Regions from separate parts of the Homo sapiens genome. Here all the other regions are linked to region 3. Evidence: promoter capture Hi-C in human tissues and cell types (Jung and others, 2019). All regions are on one chromosome and are shown on one strand. Each heading gives the region's core, a stretch centred on a gene start or on the middle of the fragment in contact. The rest is flanking DNA. Distances are from core to core; before and after follow the strand shown.

What was found. Contacts are between HindIII fragments. The study calls those that stand out against the background at their distance.
Region 1: a fragment that was not itself captured here is called in contact with the fragment with the promoter of OR6J1 in region 3 in 2 of the 25 tissues and cell types used here (neural progenitor cells and spleen).
Region 2: a contact is called between a fragment that was not itself captured here and the fragment with the promoter of OR6J1 in region 3, in 2 of the 25 tissues and cell types used here (mesenchymal stem cells and spleen).

What each region holds. Positions count from the first base shown.
Region 1 is chr14:22,607,818-22,611,843 of GRCh38, forward strand. It overlaps ABHD4 (abhydrolase domain containing 4, N-acyl phospholipase B), which reads left to right. Exons shown (of 7, transcript NM_022060.3): 6 at 1,907-2,093; 7 at 3,042-4,026. The coding sequence ends at 3,131. Among named protein-coding and RNA genes, the nearest start is that of ABHD4, 12 kb to the left of the region's middle. The HindIII fragment of the contact is 9,196 bases long and covers 1-4,026 here.
Region 2 is chr14:22,684,388-22,688,810 of GRCh38, forward strand. No RefSeq gene overlaps it. Among named protein-coding and RNA genes, the nearest start is that of OR6J1, 42 kb to the left of the region's middle. The HindIII fragment of the contact is 3,462 bases long and covers 1-3,268 here.
Region 3 is chr14:22,641,229-22,645,656 of GRCh38, forward strand. OR6J1 (olfactory receptor family 6 subfamily J member 1) reads right to left here and starts at 3,124. Exons shown (of 2, transcript NM_001348233.2): 1 at 2,870-3,124. The HindIII fragment of the contact is 14,040 bases long and covers 1-3,779 here.

The DNA of each region.
Region 1 (4,026 bases), core at 1,527-4,026, 34 kb before region 3:
CATCCCAGAGGAAGCAAAGGTGACATCAGTGACAACCAGCTCCCTCACCCCCAAACACCGTCACTCAATTTTGTAACTCCCTGAGTTTTTTGACTTTGTAACCCTGACAAGCTCATGGTAACTCTTATCATTTCCTTGGAAAACATGAAATTTGACCAACATGTTTGAGGGTATCTACTTCATCTCACCTAAACTTAGGGGCTTTGTATATATTTTTATTTTCCTAATGATGTCCTAGTGAAGTAGGTATAATACTCTACATTTATAGATGAGGAAACTAAAGTATATTCTGGTTACATGACTTGCTAAGAAAACACAGCTGAGGATTTGAATTCATTTGACTCCAAATTCCATGCTTTTTCTGCCGTGCTGCAGTATCTTAAGGAAAAATTTATTTCTGATGGCCTGGGCAGAACTCAGGTTCCCTTTCATCTGTACATGTAAAAGAGAATGGAGATCTGATGGTACTAAACAGGCCAAGCCTAGGAGGCAGCAGTGTCCCCAACCTGCCCTATCTCTAGCAGAAGCTGCAGACCAGCCCCAGAAAGCTGGCTCTGCCCCAGCCTTGTGGACACCTCATGATACGGCCTCAATTCATTCTACCTGAGCAAATGACCGGGGAGTGAAATAGATTACATTGGCATTTGTTGTTTCTTGCTTAACAGAAACTGCTGCTCCCCCAGCCCTTGGAAGACTGATTTTTAATTCCAGAGTCTTCTCAGGAAGCCCTTTTTACTACTATAGTACTCACTTTTAAGCGTTCACCTCAGATGAACTTCTGACCATGTCTCTAGACCCCCAACAGGCTAAATCCCCAGTCTGTGTTTTCATAGCACTCGACCACCTTTTCATCCTTCTTGGGAAATTTTAAGTTGTTTTTTGTTTGTTTGTTTGTTTGTTTTTGAGATGGAGGTTTGCTCATTGCCCAGGCTGGAGTGCAATGGCACGATCTCGGCTCACTGCAACCTCTGCCTCCCAGGTTCAAGCGATTCTCCTGCCTCAGCCTCCCAAGTAGCTGGGATTGCTGGCATGCACCACCATGCCTGGCTAATTTTGTATTTTTAGTAGAGATGGGTTTCACCATGTTGGCCAGGCTGGTCTCGAACTCCCGACCTCAGGTGATCTGCCCGCATCAGCCTCCCAAAGTGCTGGGATTATAGGCATGAGCCTCCATGCCTGGCTGTTCGTTTGTTTTTTTGAGACAGAGTCTCGCTCTGTCACCCAGGCTAGAGTGCAGTGGCGTGATCTTGGCTCACTGCAACCTCTGTCTCCCAGGCTCAAGCAATTCTCCTACCTCAGCCTCCTGAGTAGCTGGGATTACAGAAGCGCACCACCACGCCCCGCTAATTTTTGTATTTTTAGTAGAGACAGGGTCTCACCATGTTGGCCAGGCTGGTCTTAAACCCCTGACCTCAAATGATCCGCCCGCCTCGGCCTCCCAAAGTGCTGGGATTACAGGTGTGAGCCACCGTGCCCAGCCCAAGAAATTTTAAATTAAATAACAATTAATCATATGATTAGTTACTTAATGCCTACCTCCCTAACACATGAGCTAAAGTGTGTGAGCTCCAGGAGGGACAGCATCCTGCCTTTCTTGTTCATATGTCCCCTTTCCCAGTCCAGGGCATGACAGAATATTTGTTGAGTCAATAATAACCCATTTCATTCTCAGATTCTTGGACAGTTCGTACTGCCATGGGGTTTTTCACAAGTGTTCCTCCGAACTCTTCTGTGATGGGAGGCCTCTGGAATTTTGGTCTTCCCCTAATCTTACCAATATTTAATGAGCCCAGTGTGGGGCTTTGACAGGAATACAAAGGTGACTAAGATTCTGCCTCAGTCTCTGAAGAGACCAACAAGTTGACATATTCTGCTGTGAAGTTTATTGCTGTTTTGCTTTTGACAGTGGTGAGACAGCATTCAAAGCCATGATGGAGTCCTTTGGCTGGGCCCGGCGCCCTATGCTGGAGCGAATTCACTTGATTCGAAAAGATGTGCCTATCACTATGATCTACGGGTCCGACACCTGGATAGATACCAGTACGGGAAAAAAGGTGAAGATGCAGCGGCCGGATTCCTATGTCCGAGACATGGTATGTTGCACCACCCAAGGAGTGGAAATGATGACTGAGAGTCAATCACCTCTCAGCCTTGGGGTAGAGAAGGGTGATCAAGGAGAAAGAGGAATGGACAGACTGAGATAGAGCAGTAGATTTGAGAAGTTTGGAAACTCTCTTTGGAATATCTTTTTTTTTTCGTGATGGAGTCTCGCTATTGTTGCCCAGGCTGGAGGGCAATGGTACAATCTCGGCTCACTGCAACCTCCGCCTCCCGGGTTCAAGCGATTCTTCTGCCTCAGCCTCCCGAGTAGCTGGGATTATTAGCATGCGCCACCACGCCCAGCTAATTTTGTATTTTTAGTAGAGACGAGGTTTCTCCATGTTGGTCAGGCTGGTCTCGAACTCCTGACCTCACGTGATCCGCCCACCTTGGCCTCCCAAAGTGCTCGTATTGTACTACCTTCATTAGGGGCTTCCTGCTTTTAGCCCAGTTCAGCTAAAAGGCTGGTTCTTGTCTAGCAGCCAGGCACCTGCTGCTACTCCAGCCCCCATGTAGTTTCTACCCCAAAACCAGAGCCATGGGCAGTAGAGTGAATAGTAGAGGCTGCCATGAAGCTTCCCCACCACACCTCCTCCCCTTTTTTCTTACCCCTCTCCGCCATGTGCCAATGAGTGTGCTTAATGAGGCTGGGTGCCAACCATGGGCCCAGGTTTACTGGACCTTTGGATTAAATGAGCAGATCAGTGGTGGGGCTAACACAGAAGGAAAGACACAGTGAATGTTTATCAAGTAAGTAGAATGGGAAAGCATTGGCTGTCAAAGGAAAATACCAAGATCCAAGCGAGAAAGGTGGAGCATTATCTCTGATAAGAGCTCGTGGGTGGCAGGCAAGCAAGTCTAAGGGGAAAAGAAATAGCGTGAAGGCTTCCCAGCACCAGGAATAAAAGGCCATCCCACCCCTGCGGGTTCTCTCTCCACAGGAGATTAAGGGTGCCTCCCACCATGTCTATGCTGACCAGCCACACATCTTCAATGCTGTGGTGGAGGAGATCTGCGACTCAGTTGATTGAGCTGCTCTCTGAAGAGGAAGAGGAGAAAGCCAGAGAGTCACTCTTACCTCCCTGTCTGCTTACTCACCCACTCTGTCCTTTCCTCACCAACTAACATGTGCCAGCCAGGCAGAGTCTTGTGCTGTTCCCAGAACAGGACGACAGTGAAAAGAACACTCTTGACCCTACACTGAAGGCTGAAGGCAGAAGCCACAAGAGGCCTTGAGTGCCACCCCCAGGGAAGAACATAAAGGGTTGCACAATGCCACCCATCCACTCCTTGCCAAGTGTTACCCAGATGGTGGAGGATGTGAAGGGATTGCACCAAGCCACATTCACTCTCTCTGTGGCCTTTCTTCCTCTGGGCAAAGAAGGGCTTCCAGTGGCCTTTCCTCACTCTGTAGTGTTTGTGGGGATAGGTTCCATGCAAGAACACCTTCCTCCTCCATCCCCCACTTCACCCCATCCCATACCAGTTCCATCCAGGGTCTGCTTAACTGCCAAGAGCAGGTCCTGGAGTTCCCTTCACCTGCAGAGTCCTTTTCATGACCTAGGAGGTCTTATTCAAAGCCCTCATTGACAGAGGAGGAAACAGGCCAAGGCAGGACATGGCTGGACCATGGTGATACAGCTCTGTGTGATTCAAGTTCTGGCAGAGCTTGTAAGGCTAGAGCCCAGGTCTGCCGACACCCTGTGCTTGTTGCACACTTGATTTGCTAAGGCTGGAGACAGGCACCATTGCCATGGGGCTGGTCCTAGTCACTGGCCGAGGATAAGCCCGTCCCTGTCCCACATTCTAGCCCCACTATGCGGGGGTGCTGTTGTCCTGCCTGTGTCTCATCCCCGGCTGCCTAAGCTAGGGACACTCAAGTGCTTCCTTCCTTGCCCCATCTTCCTCCCAACTGGAGGCCTCTGA
Region 2 (4,423 bases), core at 288-2,787, 42 kb after region 3:
TCTCAAAAAGAAAAAAAAAAGATGAAGCACACCTACAGGATCTAGAAAATAGCCTCAAATCTCAGAGTTATTGGCCCCAAAGAAGAGGTAGAGAAAGAGATGGGGTAGAAAGTTTATTCAAAGGGATAATAACAGAGAACTTCCCAAACCTAGAGAAAGCTATCAATATCCAAGTACAAGAAGGTTATAGAACACCAAACAGATTTAGCCCAAAGAAGACTACCTCCAGGCATTTAATAATCAAATTGCCAAAGGTCAAGGACAAAGAAAGAGTCCTAAAAGGAGCAAGATAAAACAAACAAATAACATACAACAGAGCTCCAATATATCTGACAGCAGACTTCTCAGTGGAAACTTCACAGGTCAGGAGAGAGTGGCATGGCATATTTAAAGTGCAGAAGGAAAAAAATTTTTACCCTAGAATAGTATATCTGGCAAAAAATATCCTTCAAATATGAAGAAGAAATAAAGACTTTCCCCGACAAACAAAAGCTGAGGGATTTCATCAACATCAGACCTGTCTTACAAGAAATGCTAAGGGGAATATTTCAATCAGAAAGAAAATGATGTTAATAAGCAATCATCTGAAGGTACAAAACTCATTAGTAATAGTAAGTACACAGAATATTATAACTCTGTAATTGTGATGTTTAAACTACTCACATCTTAAGTAGAAAGATCTTAAGTAGAAAGATGTGAGTAGTTTAGTATTAGTAGTATTTTATGTGAAAAGATGAACTGAACAAAAAGTAATAACTTCAAGACATAGTACAAATAAGGTATGAATTAATAGTAACAACAAAAAGTTAAAACATGGGGGGACAAAGTTAAGGCATAGAGTCTTTATTAATTTTATTTTTGCTTGTTTGCTCATTTGTTAATGCAAACATTGTTAAGTTGTTATCAGCTTAAAATAATGGCTTATAAGATAGTATTTGCAAGCCCTATGGTAATCTCAAAACAAAAACCATATAACAGATACACAAAAAGAAAAAGCATGAAACTAAATTATATCACCAGAGAAAACCACCTTCACCAAAAGGAAGATAGAAAGAAAAGAAAGAAGAAAGAGAAGACCAGAAAACAAATAATAAAATGGCAAGAATAAGTCCTTATCCCCCATAATAACATTGAAGATGTTTTTCCTTTGCCGCATCTACTGAGAGAATGAAGATCATTCTCAGCAATCAGACTGTCAACATTCCAGAAAATGTTGGCATTACTCTGAAGGGATGCACAGTTACTGTGAAGGGCCCAAAGGAACCCTGAGGTGTGACTTAATCACATCAATGCAGAGCTCAGTCTTCTTGGGAAAAAAAAAAAAAAAGAGAGAGATTTACTGGCAAGATAGCCGAATAGGAACAGCTCCGGTCTGCAGCTGCCAGAGAGACTGATGCAGAAGGTGGGGGATTTCTGCATTTCCAACTTAGGTACCCGGTTCATCTCACTGGGACTGGTTGGACAGTGGGTGCAGCCCATGGAGGGCAAGCTGAAGCAGGGTGGGGAGCCATCTCACCTGGGAAGCACAACGGGTCAGGGAATTTTCTGCCCCACCCAAAGGAAGCCATGAGGCACTGAGCCTGAGGAACTCTGGTACAGACACTGTGCTTGTCCCATGGTTTTTGCAACCCGCAAACCAGGAGATTCCCTCCGGTGCCTACCCCACCAGGGCCCTGGGTTTCAAGCACAAAACTGGGCAGCCATTTGGGCAGACACCAAACTAGCTGCCGGAGTTCTTTTTTTCCATACCCCAGTGGTGCCTGGAATGCCAGCGAGACAGAGCCATTCACTCCCCTGGAAAGGGGTGCTGAAGCCAGGGAGCCAAGTGATCGAGCTTGGTGGGTCCCACCCCCACAGAGCCCAGCAAACTAAGATCCACTAGCTTGAAATTCTCACTGCCAGCACAGCAGCAGTCTGAGATCAACCTGAGACACGAGCTTGGTGGGGGGAGGGGCGTCCACCATTGCTGAGGCTTGAGTAGGTGGTTTTACACTCACAGTATAAAGAAAGCCACTGGGAAGTTCAAACTGGGCGGAGCCCACTGCAGCTCAGCAAGGCTGCTGTGGCCAGACGTCCCTTCTCTGGGCAGGGCATCTCTGAAAAAAAAGGTAGCAGCCCCAGTCAGGGACTTACAGATAAAACCCCCATCTCCCTGGGTCAGAGCACCTGGGAAAACAGGCAGCTGTGGGCACAGCTTCAGCAGACTTAAACGTCTCTGCCTGACAGCTCTGAAGAAAGCAGTGGACCTCCCAGCATAGCATTCAAGCTCTGCTAAGGGACAGACTGCCTCCTCAAGTGGGTCCCCGACCCCCATGTATCCTGACTGGGAGACACCTCCCAGTAGGGGCCAACAGACACCTCATACTGGAGAGTTCTGGCTGGCATCTAGGAGGTGCCCCTCTGGGACGAAGCTTCCAGAGGAAAGACCAGGCAGCAATCTTTGCTGTTCTGCAGCATCCTCTGGTGATACCCAGGGAAACAGGGTTGGGAGTGGACCTCCAGCAAACTCCAACAGACTGGTAGCAAAGGGGCCTGACTGTCAGAAGGAAAACTAACAAACAGGAATAGCACATCCACTCAAAGACCCCATCCAAAGGTCACCAACATCAAAGACCAAAGGTAGATAAATCCACAAAGATGGGGAGAAACAAGAACAAGAAGGTCAAAAATTCCAAAAACCAGAATGCCTCTTCTCCTCCAAAGGATCACAACTCCTCGCCAGCAAGGGAACAAAACTGGATGGAGAATGAGTTTGATGAATTGACAGAAGAAGGCTTCAGAAGGTGGGTAATAACAAACTCCTCCAAGTTAAAGGAGCATGTTCTAACCCAATGCAAGGAAGCTAAGAACCTTGAAAAAAGGTTAGATGAATTACTAACTAGAATAACCAGTGTAGAAAAGAACATAGATGACCTGATGGAGCTGAAAAACACAGCATGAGAACTTTGTGAGGCATACACAAGTTTCAATAGCTGAATCAATCAAGCAGAAGAAAGGATATCAGTGATTGAAGATCGACTTAATGAAATAAAGCTTGAAGACAAGATTAGAGAAAAAGGAAAAAAAGGAATGAACAAAGCCTCCAAGAAATACAGGACTATGTGAAAACCAAATCTGTGTTTGATTGGTGTCCTGAAAGTGATGAGGAGAATGGAACCAAGTTGGAAAACACTCTTCAGGATTATTATCCAGGAGAACTTCCCCAACCTAGCAAGACAGGCCAACATTCAAATTCAGGAAATACAGAGAACACCACAAAGATACTCCTTGAGAAGAGCAACTCCAAGACACATAATTCTCAGATTCACCAAGGTTGAAATGAAGGAAAAAATTTTAAGGGCAGCCAGAGAGAAAGGTCGGGTTATCCACAAAGGGAAGCCCATCAGACTAACAGCAGATCTCTCTGCAGAAACTCTACAAGTCGGAAGAGAGTGGGGTCCAATATTCAACATTCTTAAAGAAAAGAATTTTCAACCCAGAATTTCATATCCAGCCAAACTAAGCTTCATAAGCGAAGGAGAAACACAATCCTTTACAGACAAGCAAATGCTGAGAGATTTTGTCACCACCAGGCCTGCCTTACAAGAGCTCCTGAAGGAAGCACTAAACGTGGAAAGGAGCAACTGGTACCAGCCACTGCAAAAACATACTAGATTGTAAAGAACATTGGCACAATGAAGAAACTGCATCAACTAATGGGCAAAACAACTAGCTAGCCTCATATTGACAGGATCAAATTCACACACAACAATTTTAACCTTAAACGTAAATGGGCTAAATGCGCCAATTAAAAGACACAGACTGGCAAATTGGATAAAGAGTCAAGACCCATTAGTGTGCTGTATTCAGGAGACCCATCTCATGTGCAAAGATACACATAGGCTCAAAATAAAGGGATGGAGGAATATTTACCAAGCAAATGGAAAGCAAAAAAAAGCACAAGTTGCAATCCTAATCTCTGATAAAACAGACTTTAAACCAACAAAGATCAAAAGAGACAAAGAAGGGCATTACATAATGGTAAAGGGATCAATGCAGCAAGAAGAGGTAACTATCCTAAATATATATGCACCCAATACAGAAGCACCCAGATTCATAAAGCAAGTTCTTAGAGACCTACAAAGAGACTTAGACTCCCACACAATAGTAATGGGAGACTTTAACACCCTACTGTCAATATTAGGCAGGTTAACGAGACAGAAAATTAACAAGGATATTCAGGACTAGAACTCAACTCTGGACCAAGCGGACCTATTAGACATCTATAGAACTCTCCACCCCAAATCAACAGAATATACATTCTGCTCAGCACCTCATTGCACTTATTCTAAAACTGATGACATAATTGGAAGTAAAACACTCCTCAGCAAATGTAAAAGAACAGAAATCACAACAAACTGTCTCTCAGACCACAGTGCAATCA
Region 3 (4,428 bases), core at 1,874-4,373:
GAAAGAAAGAAAGAAAGAAAGAAAGAAAGAAAGAAAGAAAGGAAGGAAGGAAGAAAGAGAAGAAAGAGAGACAGAGAGGAAAGAGAGAGAGAGGAAGGAAGGAAGAAAGGAGGGAGGGAGGGAAGAAAGAAAGAAAGGGGGGAGAGAAGAAAGAAAGAGAGAGAGAGAGAAAGGAAGGATGGAAGGAAGGAAGAGAAAGAAAGAAAGAATGAAAGAGAGAGAAAGAAAGAAAGAAAGAAAAAGAAAGAAAGGAAGGAAGGAAGGAGGGAGGGAGGAAAGAAAGGAGGGAGGGAAGAAAGAAGGAAAGAAAGAAGGAAGGAAGAAATAAAGAAAAAGAAAAAAGAAAGAAGGAAAGAAAATTATTCTAAAAGGATATATATATATATACATAGTTGGATTGAAAATGTATATTAGCAAACACATATTGAGTGCCAACTATGTTGTGGGGCCTGCGATTGATGAAAGGTTGCAGAGATGGTAAAAAAAATTGCATGCCCTCGCACAGCTTTCAGTCTAAAAGAGATGTGAAGAAACCTGATTTCAGAAAAATCACAGAAACAGAGGAAAAATTAAGGGACGGCAAAGTTTTTTCATGGATATTTGTCCTGGGCCATTAGTCTGGAAAGCAAACCAACTACCAGGAAAACTGATAGATTCCAGGGACAAGGTCAAATAGGGCTTCTATACCTAGGAAGGACTCTGGATAGCAGAGGCCACGTAATTACCAGTGACTAAGAAGAATATGGATTGGACTAGGAAAAACAAGAATAATCTAGTAAAGGAAGAGGACTGCAGAAATCCCGAGGACTGAGTTGACCTCTGCCCATCTAAGCTGAGTCAGAACATCAGCCACTCCTGCACAGAACCTGTCCTCACGACCTGCCCTACCTTCCTATAGCCTTGGCACATGGACAGTCTCTCCAGACAACTCACCACATTTGCATTGCCAAGGATCTTTTCTTTCTTAACAGCTTTATTGATATATAACTCAAGTACCATACATTCCACCCATTTAAAATATACAATTCAATAGCTTTTAGTGTATTCACAAAACTGTGTGTCCATCACCACAATCAACTTAAGAATATATATATATATATATATATATATATATATATATATATATTTGAGATGGAGTCTCGCTCTGTCACCCAGGCTGGAGTGCAGTGGCACGAGCTCAGCTCACTGCAACCTCCACCTCCAGGGTTCAAGCGATTCTCCTGCCTCAGCCTCCTGAGTAAGCTGGGATTACAGGCGTGTGCCACCATGCCCAGCTAATTTTTGTATTTGTAGTAGAGATGAGGTTTCACCGTGTTGGTCAGGCTGGTCTCCAACTCCTGACCTCATGATCTTCCCGCCTTGACCTCCCAAAGTGCTGGGATTACAGGGACAAGCCACCATGCCTGGCAGATTTAAGGATATTTTAATGATCCCTCCTCCATTCCCTGGAAACTATTTTTCTACTTTCTGACTATGGATTTGCCTATTCTGGACATTTCATATAAATGAATCATACCATATGTGGTCCTTTGTATCTAGCTTCTTTCACTTACTATAATATTTTCTTTATTTTTATTTTTAAATTTTTTTTAGAGACAGGGTCCTGCTCTGTCAGTGAGGCTGTAGTGCAGTGGCATGAAGATAGCTCACTGCAGCCCCAAACTCCTGGGCTCAAGTGATCCTCCTGCCTCAGCCTCCCAAGTAGCTAGGACTACAGGTGCACACCATCACACCTGGATAATTTTTTTTTTTTTTTGAGATGGAGTTTTACTCTTGTCACCCAGGCTGGAGTGCAATGGTGCAATCTCTGGTCACTGCAACCTCCGCCTCCCCGGTTCAAGCGATTCTCCAGCCTCAGCCTCCCAAGTAGCTGGGATTACAGGCGTCTGCCACCACGCCCAGCAGATTTTTGTATTTTTAGTAGAGACAGGGTTTCCCCATGTTGGCCAGGCTGGTCTCGAACTCCTGACTTCAAGTGATCCATCCACCTCGGCCTCCCAAAGTGCTGGGATTACAGGCGTGAGCCACCGTGCCTAGCCTAATTTTTTTTTTAATTAGAAAATAATTTTACTTTTTTTATTTTTTGAGACAGGGTCTCACTCTGTCACCCAGGCTGGAGTGCAGTGGTGCAATCATAACTCACTACATCCTCGACCTCCCAGGCTCAAGTGATCCTCCCACCTCAGACTCCCAAGTAACTGGGACTACAGGCACACACCACCATGCCCGGCCAATTTTTGTATTTTTTGTAGTGATAGGGGTTTTGCCATATTGCCCAGGCTGGTCTCGAACTCCTGGGCTCAAGCGATCTTCCTGTCTTAGCATCCCAAAGTGCTGAGATTACAGGTGCAGGCCACTTACTATAATATTTGTAAAGGTTCATCTATGTTATAGCATGGATCATTGCCAAGGATCTTAAAGAACCAATGTAGCAGGAGAAAAGGCCACAGCCCCAAGAAGAAGCCCTGACCCCTGGCATGGCAGAAACACACACACACACACACACACACACACACACACACACACACACACACACAGAGAGAGAGAGAGAGAGAGAGAGAGAGAGAGAGACAGCAGTTACTAAATGTAGATATATGCACAGTCTGTAAAATCTAGAAGAATAGTATGGAGGATGAATTTGGACTTGGTCACCAAATCTGGAAATGGTAGGATGAGGGATCAAGACTTAATTCATTTAACTCTCAAAATACATCTTTGCATAAGGTGCAACTGCACCCACTGGAAAATCATTTCCTCACATCAGAAATATTAAGAAGCTTAATGAAGGCAAAGATACACACCTGAGATTATAACAGGAACAGCTGCTCCCAGCCAGCCCCCAAATGCCAAACGATTGGTCTGCACTCACCTCGGCTAGGGTTGCCTTATGCCACCTCCACGGCTCAGTCTGTTCACCTGGGATTTGCTGCCACCTAGGATCTTCCACGGTAATTATCTTGACCAAAAAGCCACAGTGCATTCCACATGAGAGCAGCAGTGTTTGACAGGTGAAATGAGCCCTTCCCAACTCATGTGGATTGTTGCCTTAGCTGTGACCTCTTGTCCGACGAGCATGCACTTGTGTTGTAGACAGCTGGAAGGTACATGTTGGATTTTTACACTGCTGAGGAAGTTACAAGGTATGACATCCATTCCAGCATAGAGAGGTCTACAAATCCTCTTGCCCTAATCCTGAGTGTGTGAGGAAATCACCTTCGGTTAAGCATTGACCAGCTGCACCTCCCACACTGTCTACACAATCTGATCCAGTTGGGGAGAGAAAAGGGGCACTCTCCACTAAGCTCCTGGATGGTGCTTTATTCTCCTCTCCTGCTACCATCTTTCCTGCACCCTCTCCAGTCTTCTGCTCAGCCCAGTCTTCTGGGTGCTTCTTGATTCCAGAGAAAATGGGAAAAGAAACACTGTGTTACCTGATGGACAACAGCCATCAACCTGCTTCTTCCTCTGTCCCCTCAACCCAACGTGCACTACCACCACCACCATCCCCATCATATTTTTTTCAGAGACTGGCAGGCCAAGCGTCCCAAGGACTAAACTTCCTCTAGGGTTACTGCAGGATAGTCAAATCCTGTTGAGGGGTAGCTGGTGCATGAGAAAACTCTGGACTTGAAGCCAAGAGTCTGGGTTCAAGTCCCACCTGTGCCTTTTACCATTCTTGAGACTGGAAAAATTGCCTCCATTTTCATACTATCTGCAAATGAATCCTCATGTGACAAACAGCGGTAATGCTCTTTTCCTCCTCTTCCTCATGAGGTTGAGAAGCACAAAACGGAAAATAAGATAACTCATATGATAATCGATCATTGCCAAGGATCGTGAAGAACAAATGTATGATAATTCATATGATGTGTGAAATCATAAAACACCATATTGCTTTATTTTCTAGAACCCCTCCTATTCTGCAATACTGGAAAAGAACAAACCTTATCTTCCTTGTCCCTACTGAGATATTGATCATCCCACCCTAGAGGGAAGAATACTGTCCCTTCTGGCTCTGGAATACATCTCATCAGGCCCATGCTTCTGCCTTAATCAACTATTCTCCCCTTGGACAGCATATCTGGTTGGCTACAAAGTGTGAAGACAAAGGGAAGATGCTTCTCTACATGGGAATTTCGGTTGCCCAGGATTCCTGGAAATGAAGAAACTACTTCCTGTCCTCCACCATCTGCACTCTACAGAGGAGTCAGTAAGCTGGAAGGGATTCAGCGGGAGGACTCAGAAATACTCACATTTGCCTAAATAAGGTAGAGGGGGCTGGCCCCCAGCATATCCTGCCCACACAGCTGCCCCAGGCTTCCGTGCTGGGCGCTGAGGCTTGCGTTGCTGCAAACAGACTCTGCACTGTCAGGGCTGAAGGGGGCATACTCTAGAAGGGTCCCATGTTTGGACCCCACTTGGGAGGGT